2 separate regions of the Homo sapiens genome follow, and region 1 is linked to region 2. The links are contacts of gene promoters, found by promoter capture Hi-C in blood cells and fetal thymus (Javierre and others, 2016). All regions are on one chromosome and are shown on one strand. Each heading gives the region's core, a stretch centred on a gene start or on the middle of the fragment in contact. The rest is flanking DNA. Distances are from core to core; before and after follow the strand shown.

What was found. The method cuts DNA at HindIII sites, captures the fragments that hold promoters and counts their contacts. A CHiCAGO score of 5 or more calls a contact.
Region 1: a fragment that was not itself captured here is called in contact with the fragment with the promoter of DENR in region 2 in 1 of 17 cell types (total B cells); the score reaches 5.6 in total B cells.

The regions. Positions count from the first base shown.
Region 1 is chr12:122,397,555-122,401,834 of GRCh38, reverse strand. All of the region lies in intron 1 of CLIP1 (CAP-Gly domain containing linker protein 1), which reads left to right. CLIP1-AS1 (CLIP1 antisense RNA 1) reads right to left here. Exons shown (of 3, transcript NR_045382.1): 3 at 1,891-2,539. Among named protein-coding and RNA genes, the nearest start is that of CLIP1-AS1, 4.2 kb to the right of the region's middle. RefSeq lists enhancers at 1-575, 1,149-1,198, 576-1,261, 1,219-1,278, 1,817-1,876 and 1 more. The HindIII fragment of the contact is 1,634 bases long and covers 2,168-3,801 here.
Region 2 is chr12:122,750,292-122,754,658 of GRCh38, reverse strand. It overlaps DENR (density regulated re-initiation and release factor), which reads right to left and starts at 1,835. Exons shown (of 8, transcript NM_003677.5): 1 at 1,709-1,835; 2 at 852-966. The coding sequence starts at 957. RefSeq lists enhancers at 1,327-1,386, 2,478-3,339 and a silencer at 1,527-1,576. The HindIII fragment of the contact is 18,243 bases long and covers 776-4,367 here.

The sequences.
Region 1 (4,280 bases), core at 1,735-4,234, 350 kb after region 2:
GTGGAGACTGGCTTCACCATGTCTGTCAGGCTGGTCTTGAACTCCTGACCTCAGGTCATCCTCCCGCCTTGGCCTCCCAAAGTGCTGGGATTACAGGCATGAGCCAGCATGCCCAGCCGAGATCATACCTGTTAAATAGCACTCATTGTAGGTAGTAATTGAACAGTTTGCCCATAGCTTCATTGACCTACTTTCTTGGAGTACAATGGCGCCATCTCTGCTCACCGCAACCTCTGCCTCCCAGGTTTAAGCAGTTCTCCTGCCTCAGCCTCCTGAGTAGCTGGGATTACAGGCATGTGCCACCACGCCGCCTGGCTGATTTTGTATTTTTAGTAGAGATGGGGCTTCGCCGTTTTGGTCAGGCTGGTCTTGAATTCCTGACCTCAAGTGATCTGCCCGCCTTGGCCTCCCAAAGTGCTAGGATTACCGTGCCCGGCCCATTGACCTACTTTTTATTAATTTGTTCATTAATAATTAGAGATGAGGTCTCACCAAGTTTCCCAGGCTGGTATTGAACTCCTGGGCTCAAAGCATCCTGCCACCTCAGCCTCCCAAAGTGTTGGGATTACAGGTGTGAACCACCATACCCACCCTTCATTGGCCCACTTTTTAGAAAAGGATCCAGGCCAGTCGTGGTGGCTCATGTCTGTAATCCCAGCACTTTGGGAGGCCAAGACGGGCGGATCACCTGAGGTCGGGAGTTCGAGACCAGCCTGACCAACATGGCAAAACCTTGTCTCTACTAAAAATACAAAATTAGCCAGGCATGGTGGCACGTGCCTGTAATCCCAGCTACTTGGGAGGCTAAGGCATGAGAATTGCTTAAACCCGAGAGGCGGAGGTTGCAGTGAGCCGAGATCGCGCCACTGCACTCCAGCCTGGGCGACAAGAGTGAAACACTGTCTCAAAAAAAAAAAAAAAAGGATCCGGAGTTGGGAAACCCTGTAATGCTTCTGTGTTTATCAAGTGTTTAGAGTGTAAGATACAGTTACTTGATGCTTTAGTTTGAAAATCGCATCATTTTGCATAATTTTATGGATTCTTGTTTTGCTGTTGACTCACTTGAGAACTTTTTTGAACTCTTACTGTGTATCAAACTTTTTTAGATTCGTTGGATGCGAAGACAAATCAAATCTCATGGAGCTTAGTCATAGCATGATATGCAAACAAGACAGGAATGCGTGTGAGTCATCATTCCGTAATCGAAGCTGCCCAGTAGCTGGAGTAGTCCAGAGAAGGAAGAGAGGGCAAGAAGAGTAGTCAGAAGAGACTGCTGATGTGTCTCCTGTGTTCTTGGAGAGCCATTTCCCATGTGCCCCCAAAGCCCTTCTGTGTGGCAGTATGCTGCGCGTGGCAGTAGCGTATGGGGCCTGGCTCTAGAAACAGCCAGTACGTGGGAAATGAAGCCCGTCCAAGGACCTTAAGCTCAGTTCAGCCAGGAGATGTGATGTTTTTAAATTGGGGCTAAGCAGGCCCATAATTTTTTTTTTTTTGGTTACTTTTCCGTGACATTGGATAGTTGACTTTTTTGTTTTACTCAAGAATTGAAGAAAATTTGCAAATGCCCTTCAATCTTATTTATCTTTTTCAGTCTCTTCTGTATATACAGAAATATGAATGTGAATGAAGTGGAAGGAAGAAAATCAAATAGCTTGCCCTTTCTTAAGGGGAAACAAGTCAATTTGGAAAGGTCCCAGCGTTGTGTAAGTGTTTTCAGTGGCTCAAGCCGAGGAGCTCAGGTTACACTGCATCTCCTGTGTTGGGGGTGGGGACAGCAAGTGACACAGCATACTTACGTAACCGTGACTTCAGGGGACAGGATTAAGCTGTGAATGAACCTCCCAAACCCAGGAATATGATATGAGAACATAGCCTTTGAATTTCTCTCTCAAGTTTGACTTGAAAAATCAGCCTCAGAAACATCTTTATCTTAAGATAGATTTCCGTTGCTCTCAGAACGTCTCTCCCCTGACCTTCTGTTATTAAGTTCATGGACATACAGCATTTTAGAATTAGGTGGGGGCTCCGAAGTCTGCGAGTGCAGCTGTGCACAGGTAAGTCACTTCACCCGCCTGGTGCTGAATTTCCTTTGGGTCTTGAAGCAGGGCCGCGTTGAAACCTGGGTTTCTGGACGTTGTAGCTACCACGCAGCCTGTTTCTGGAAGCTTGGTGTTAAACTCCCTCTCCTGGCAGGTTAAATTCATTGCAAATTCTTCAACTCTCCTTTGCCTCCCAACAGAATTTTTAGATTTAGTAAATAAAGTGGCATTTTCATTTTGTGGATGGGGCAAAATGGACTGGAAAGGGTCTGATGTGTAGAGATGTGATTTTCTTGGGGCAACGTGATGCCGCTCTATGTGTGCCAGGAGGTGCTGAGCCTGTTTGAAGCTCTTATCAGATCTGGGTTCTTTCTTCACTGATGGCAGAGGTCTGTACTTTTCACTTTGGCAAAGTTAGAGCCACAGTCTTTCCTTTCACTTCTGAATCCTTGACCTTTTGCTTACAGGATTTGGATTTGATACCCAAAACAGGACTAGAACTGTGAAGGTATGGAGTTAGAAACAGATCTTATTTAATTAGTGTCCTCAGGTTGAAGTTGGGAATACTGAGCCGGGGAAGGGGTTATGTGAGTTGTTCAGGGTCATCCAACTGGGGTGGAATTTAGGTGTCTCACTTCCTAGTCCAGCTCTCTGTTCATACTTTTTTATTTATTTGAACCATGACATTTAAAAAATAGGAGTAAACATAACCTTAAGAAATCAGATGAGAATATGAAGAATATTACTGCTTTTTGTATGAACATAATTTTCACCATTCTTGTTTTTGGGAACTGCTTGTTTTGTGGAACCTCTTGTTTCTGTAAATTGCTTAAGGTTTTTTTTTTTTTTTTTTGGATATCTGGTCAGGAGGAAGGGGGATTAGATTTTATTAAAATATATATTTTCTATAATAAGTGTCTTTTTTTCTTAAACTTTTTAAAAAAAGATTTTAGAGATAAAGTCTTGCTAATATTGCCTAGGCTGGACTCAATCTCCTGGGCTCAAGCGATCCTCCCACCTCAGTCTCCGAAGTAGCTGGGATTCCAGGCAGGCGCCACCATGCCCGGCTAATTAAAAAAAATTTTTTTTTTTTAGAGATGGGGTTTCACTATGTTGCCCAGGCAGCTCTCAGACTCCTGGACTTAAGTGATCCACCTGCCTTGGCCTCCCAAAATGCTGGGATTATAGGTGTGAGCCACCATGCCTGGGCAAACTTGTGTGTTTTAAAAACATATTTTGTTCTTACGAGTAAAATGTCTCTGCTTTTATAAAAATATAGTACTTTAATTATTCACATTATAATGCTTTTTGTGATATAAAGCATTTCAATCTTAGAGGCTCGTCCTTAAAATTAATTTTTTTTTTTTTTTTAAGGTGGAGTCTCATTCTGTCGCCCAGGCTGGAGTGCAGTGGCGTGATCTCGGCTCACTGCAACCTCCACCTCCAGGGTTCAAGCTATTCTCCTCAGCCTCCCAAGTAGCTGGTATTACAGGCGCCTGCCACCACGACCAGCTAATTTTTTTTTTTTTTTTTTGTATTTTCAGTAGAGACAGGGTTTCACCATGTTGGCCAGGCTGGTCTCAAATTCCTGACCTCTGGTGATCCGGCTGCCTTGGCCTTCCGAAGTGCTGCGATTACAGGCATGAGCCACCAAGCCCAGTCCCTTAAAATTAATTTATTTGAGGAATTTACTTGGCCAAGATGATTCAAAGCTCTAAGCAAAGTTTTTATCTGTTTGCCACTGTATTACATAAAATAAGCTTGCCACTATACCATATAAGCCCACTTATTTCAGTGGCTGAAACTGATAAGTTAATTTTCTTTTTTTTTTGTTTTTTTTTGAGACGGCGTCTCACTCTGTTGCCCAGGCTGGAGTGCAGTGGCACAATCTTGGCTCACTGCAACCTCTGCCTCCTGGCTTCAAGCGATTATCCTGCCTCAGCCTACTGAGTAGCTGGGATTACAGGCATGCGCCTCCACTCTCGACTAATTTTTATATTTTTTTTTTAGTAAAGATGGGGTTTCACCATGTTGGCCAGGCTGGTCTCGAACTCCTGACCTTGTGATCGGACTGCCTCCCAAAGTGCTGGGATTATAGGTGTGAGCCACCATGCGTGGCCGATAAGTTGATTTTCAGTTTTGGAAAAGTTTAGGATACATATTTACTGATGGGAAAATGGGGAGAGGTGATTCAGGTGTCTAGACTTCTTTCTTCCTTTTTTTTTTTTTTTTTTTTTTTTT
Region 2 (4,367 bases), core at 586-3,085:
TACGGTACTTAAATGTCAGATGTGGTCTCTACTGCAGTCACAGAATGTAAGGTCCACGTGAACAAGGATCTTCTGACTTATTCACTACTCAGGCCCCAGCACCTAAAACATCACTAGGCACACAGTAAGTTCTGAGAAATATTTACTGAAAAAATATTTACTTGCCCTTTTACTGTCCTGTATCTTCAGATTTTTCTGAAAGTTTCCAAGATGCGAATACATACAGCATTTACAATTCACAAATATTTCTATATTGAAAATGAAGAAAAACACTCGAAAGTGAAAAAGATCTTGATTAAACCTAATACATATATCATGATTCAAACCAAGAAGACTTTCCTCACTGTCCTACCACCCAACACTCCAACCTCACCTTCTCCCACTCCTTAACGGGCCACCCTCCCTATACGATACACCAGACAAACTCAAAGCTGCTCACTTCTTCACAGACAGCCATCAAGCTTTTTCTTACATAGTCGTGCGCTTTGTCTGGGACGCCGTTCCCCACCTTCTCATCCAGTCCTTGCCATCCTTAACTCATAATCTTCCAAGAAGCCCTCCTTTGACAGCTAGACTAGCATACACCTTGAGGACCTTCAGGCTGAAATAACCTAGTTGCACATCCTGTTACAAATGGACTGTAAGCTTCTTCAGGCAGAGTAGCCAGACACAAATCACCCAGGTGGGGAAACTCTGTTAATTCATGCCTCCTCCTCCCCAGGACTCCTCTCCCCCAGTACAAACTCACCAAATGAAAAGGATGGGGAAGAAAGCTTACCAAATGTCAAACTGTTATTACAATGCATAAAAGTATAGTGAGTAAAAGTCATTCTGTGGCTACCAACACTTGCCTCCACAATAAAGGACTCGAAGTGGGTAATCGGCATCTAACTTGGCACTGTTCCTTGGGTCTCCTTTGCAGTCAGCCCCGCTGGATTCAGAAATGTCAGCAGCCATTTCACAAACCTGTAAGCAAGGAAAATAACACACCCTCACTATTTTAGAATCAAGACCCCAGAAGAGCAGTGTTCCTCTCAACAGAAACCTCCCCACCCCAAAGCTGTTTCAAGTCTGTTGTTGAGTGGGGGATACAAGCTGCATTCGATTCATAAAATATGAGCAATCCCAGGCACAACATCTCCTTGCTCCACAGGTCTACAGGGAAGCAAGCAGCAAATGGACCATGAAGGATGGGGCAGAGGGACTCACTAGAGAAAAACAGGAAGCAATGGGGAAGGAAAGATGGGGTGAGTACCCACGGCAGACACGGAGCAAAAAGGTCTGAGGGTGATCTGGGAGGGATGCAAACTGCAGTGAGAGAAGGGCTACAAAGGCGCCGAATGGAGAGAGGCTGGAAGTGCCTAGGAACAAGGGGTGGGTCATCGGAGAAGCCCGGGGTGCAGGGTGTGGGGGCAACTAAACGCCATGAGAGGGGCCTGGGGAGTCTAAAAAGGGCATGGGAGGGGGCGGGGTAACCAGAGCGTAAGAAGGATGAGGAGAGAAAACGAGCGCAGAATGTAAGAGCACTGAGGGGACAAGGGCGACCAGGTCTGAGGCGAAGGAGCAACCCCGGGGACGCCAGAAGGGGCCCTTGTGGGCGGGGGTGTGGAGAGGCCCGGCCCGGCCCCCTTCCGCCAGGCAGCATCTCAGCTTCCCCCACACTCTCTACGAGCTTCTCGGGAGCGGGAGAAGCACTTGGGGTCGTTACCCAGGCGGTCGCACAGGCCCCGCCGGCTCCGCTCCCGCCGCTATCGCCAGCTGAACCAACACATGCAACTCGTCTCCCCGGCCAGGGCCGCCCGAGCGCCCGACCGCCAGCAGCGCTCCCGCGAGACAATGAGCCTTTATCGCGAGATTCCGGCCGCCGCTGGGCGGATGTCGCGAGAAGCCGGAAGACGGGGGCGGAGAAAAATTGCGGAGCGTGCGCCTTGCCCTCCGGTGGGGGGCGTGGCCAAGAGGCCGAGAGGCGGGCCGCCGGCAGGCGGTGCTCGTCACCCGTTGGAGAGGATGAATCCTCGAGATGGGCGTGCCGAAGGGAACGTGACTTGCAGACGCAGAGAGCGCACCTGAGTCACAAATGACTCCCTATTAATGAGTCCGAGGATCATCGCCTCGGTGTCTGCGGTGCATCCTGGAGTCCTGACTAACCTCCAGCTACTGCATAAATCACTCCCGTGCGGGGAGATTGCAGCCGGATAGAGCGTTTGGTCGCATTTTAACACCATGCACTGAATTAAAGGAAGGTGTTCTCCCTCCCTCCCTCCCTCCCTTCCTTCTTTCCTTCCTCTCTTCTTTTCTCTCTCTCTTCGCCGGATGGAGCGTTTGGTTGCGTTTTAACACCATACACTAAATTAAAGGAATTCTTTTTTCTTTCTTTTCTGTTCTTTCTTTTCTTTCTTCTTTCTCTTCTTTCTGTCTCTTTCTTCCCCTTCCCTCCCTCCCTCCCTTCCTTCCTTCTTTCCTTCCTTCCTCCCTCCCTTCCTTCCTTCCTCCCTCCCTTCCTTCATCCTTTTCTTTATGTTTTGACAGGGTCTCACTCTGTCACCTAGGCTGGATGGAGTGCAGTTGCACAAACACGGTTCACTGCAGCCTCGACCTCCCAAGTAGTTGGGAATACAGGCGCGCGTTACCACACCCAGCTAATTTTTAATTTGTTTATAGAGGTGGGGGAATCTCCCTATGCTGTCCAGGCTGGTCTCGAACTCCCGGACTCAAGGGATCCTCCCGCCTCCGCCTCCCAAAGTGCTGGGATTACAGGCGTGAGCCACCGCGCCCGGCCTACAATTTTTTTTAATGAAAAAAAGAAAAATGTAAGAGTATGGGAATATATGGGGAAAAGAAAGATCAGATTGTTACTGTGTCTGTGTAGAAAGAAGTAGACATAAGAGACTCCATTTTGTTCTGTGCTAAGAAAAATTCTTCTGCCTTGAGATGCTGTTAATCTGTAACCCTACCACCAACCCTGTGCTTCCTGAGACCTGTGCTGTGTCAACTGAGGGTTAAATGGATTAAGGGCTGTGCAGGATGTGCTTTGTTAAACAAATGCTTGAAGGCAGCATGCGCCTTAAGAATCATCACCACTCCCTAATCTCAAGTACCCAGAGACACAATACACTGCAGAAGGCCGCAGGGACCTCTTCCTAGGAAAGCCAGGTATTGTCCAAGGTTTCTCCTCATGTGATAGTCTGAAATATGGCCTCGTGGGAAGGGAAAGACCTGACCATTCCACAGCCCGACACCTGTAAAGGGTCTGTGCTCAGGAGGATTAGTAAAAGAGGAAGGAACACCTCTGTGCAGTTGAGATAAGAGGAAGGCATCTGTCTCCTGCTCGTCCCTGGGCAATGGAATGTCTCGGTGTAAAGCCCGATTGTATATTCCATCTACTGAGATAGGGGAAAACCGCCTTAGGGCTGGAGGTGGGACATACTGGCAGCAATACTGCTCTTTAAGGCATTGAGATGTTTATGTATATGCACATCAAAAGCACAGCACTTTTTTCTTTACCATGTTTATGATGCAGAGACATTTGTTCACATGTTTTCCTGCTGACCTTCTCTCTACTATTATACCCTATTATCCTGGCACATCCCCCTGTCCGGGAAATGCCTGCTAATGATCAATAAATACTAAGGGAACTTAGAGGCCGGTGCGGGCACGGGTCCTCCGTATGCTGAACGCCGGTCCCCTGGGCCCATTTTTCTTTCTCTACAATTTGTCTCTGTGTCTCTTTCTTTTCCAAGCCTCTCGTTCCACCTGACGAGAAATGCCCACAGGCGTGGAGGGGCAACCCACCCCTTCAGGAATAGATCTTGGTTTCAAGAATAGTTGGATCCTGCAGATAAAACAACGTATTCTAGAACCTTTCTCTCACTCTTGCTCTCAGAGAATTCTAAAACAAATGTGAGAAGTGTGTATGTTTGGTGATTTTGGGTAAACACATGGGAGTTTCTTCATACTATTCTTGTAGATTTTCTGTACATTTGAAATTATGTCAAATTTACAAGTTTTTTTTTTTTTTTTTTTTTTTTTTTGAGACAGAGTCTCGCTCTGTTGCCCAGGCTGGAGTGCAGTGGCACGATCTCGGCTCACTGCAAGCTCCGCCTCCCGGGTTCACGCCATTCTCCTGCCTCAGCCTCCCGAGTAGCTGGGACTACAGGCGCCTGCCACCACGCCGGGCTAATTTTTTGTATTTTTATTAGAGACGGGGTTTCACCGTGTTAGCCAGGATGGTCTCGATCTCCTGACCTCGTGATCCGGCCGCCTTGGCCTCCCAAAGTGCTGGGATTACAGTTGTGAGCCACCGCGCCCGGCTTACAAGTTTTTTTTTTTTAAGGTTGCTATCTCTTTTCATCTGTTGGCTCTATCCC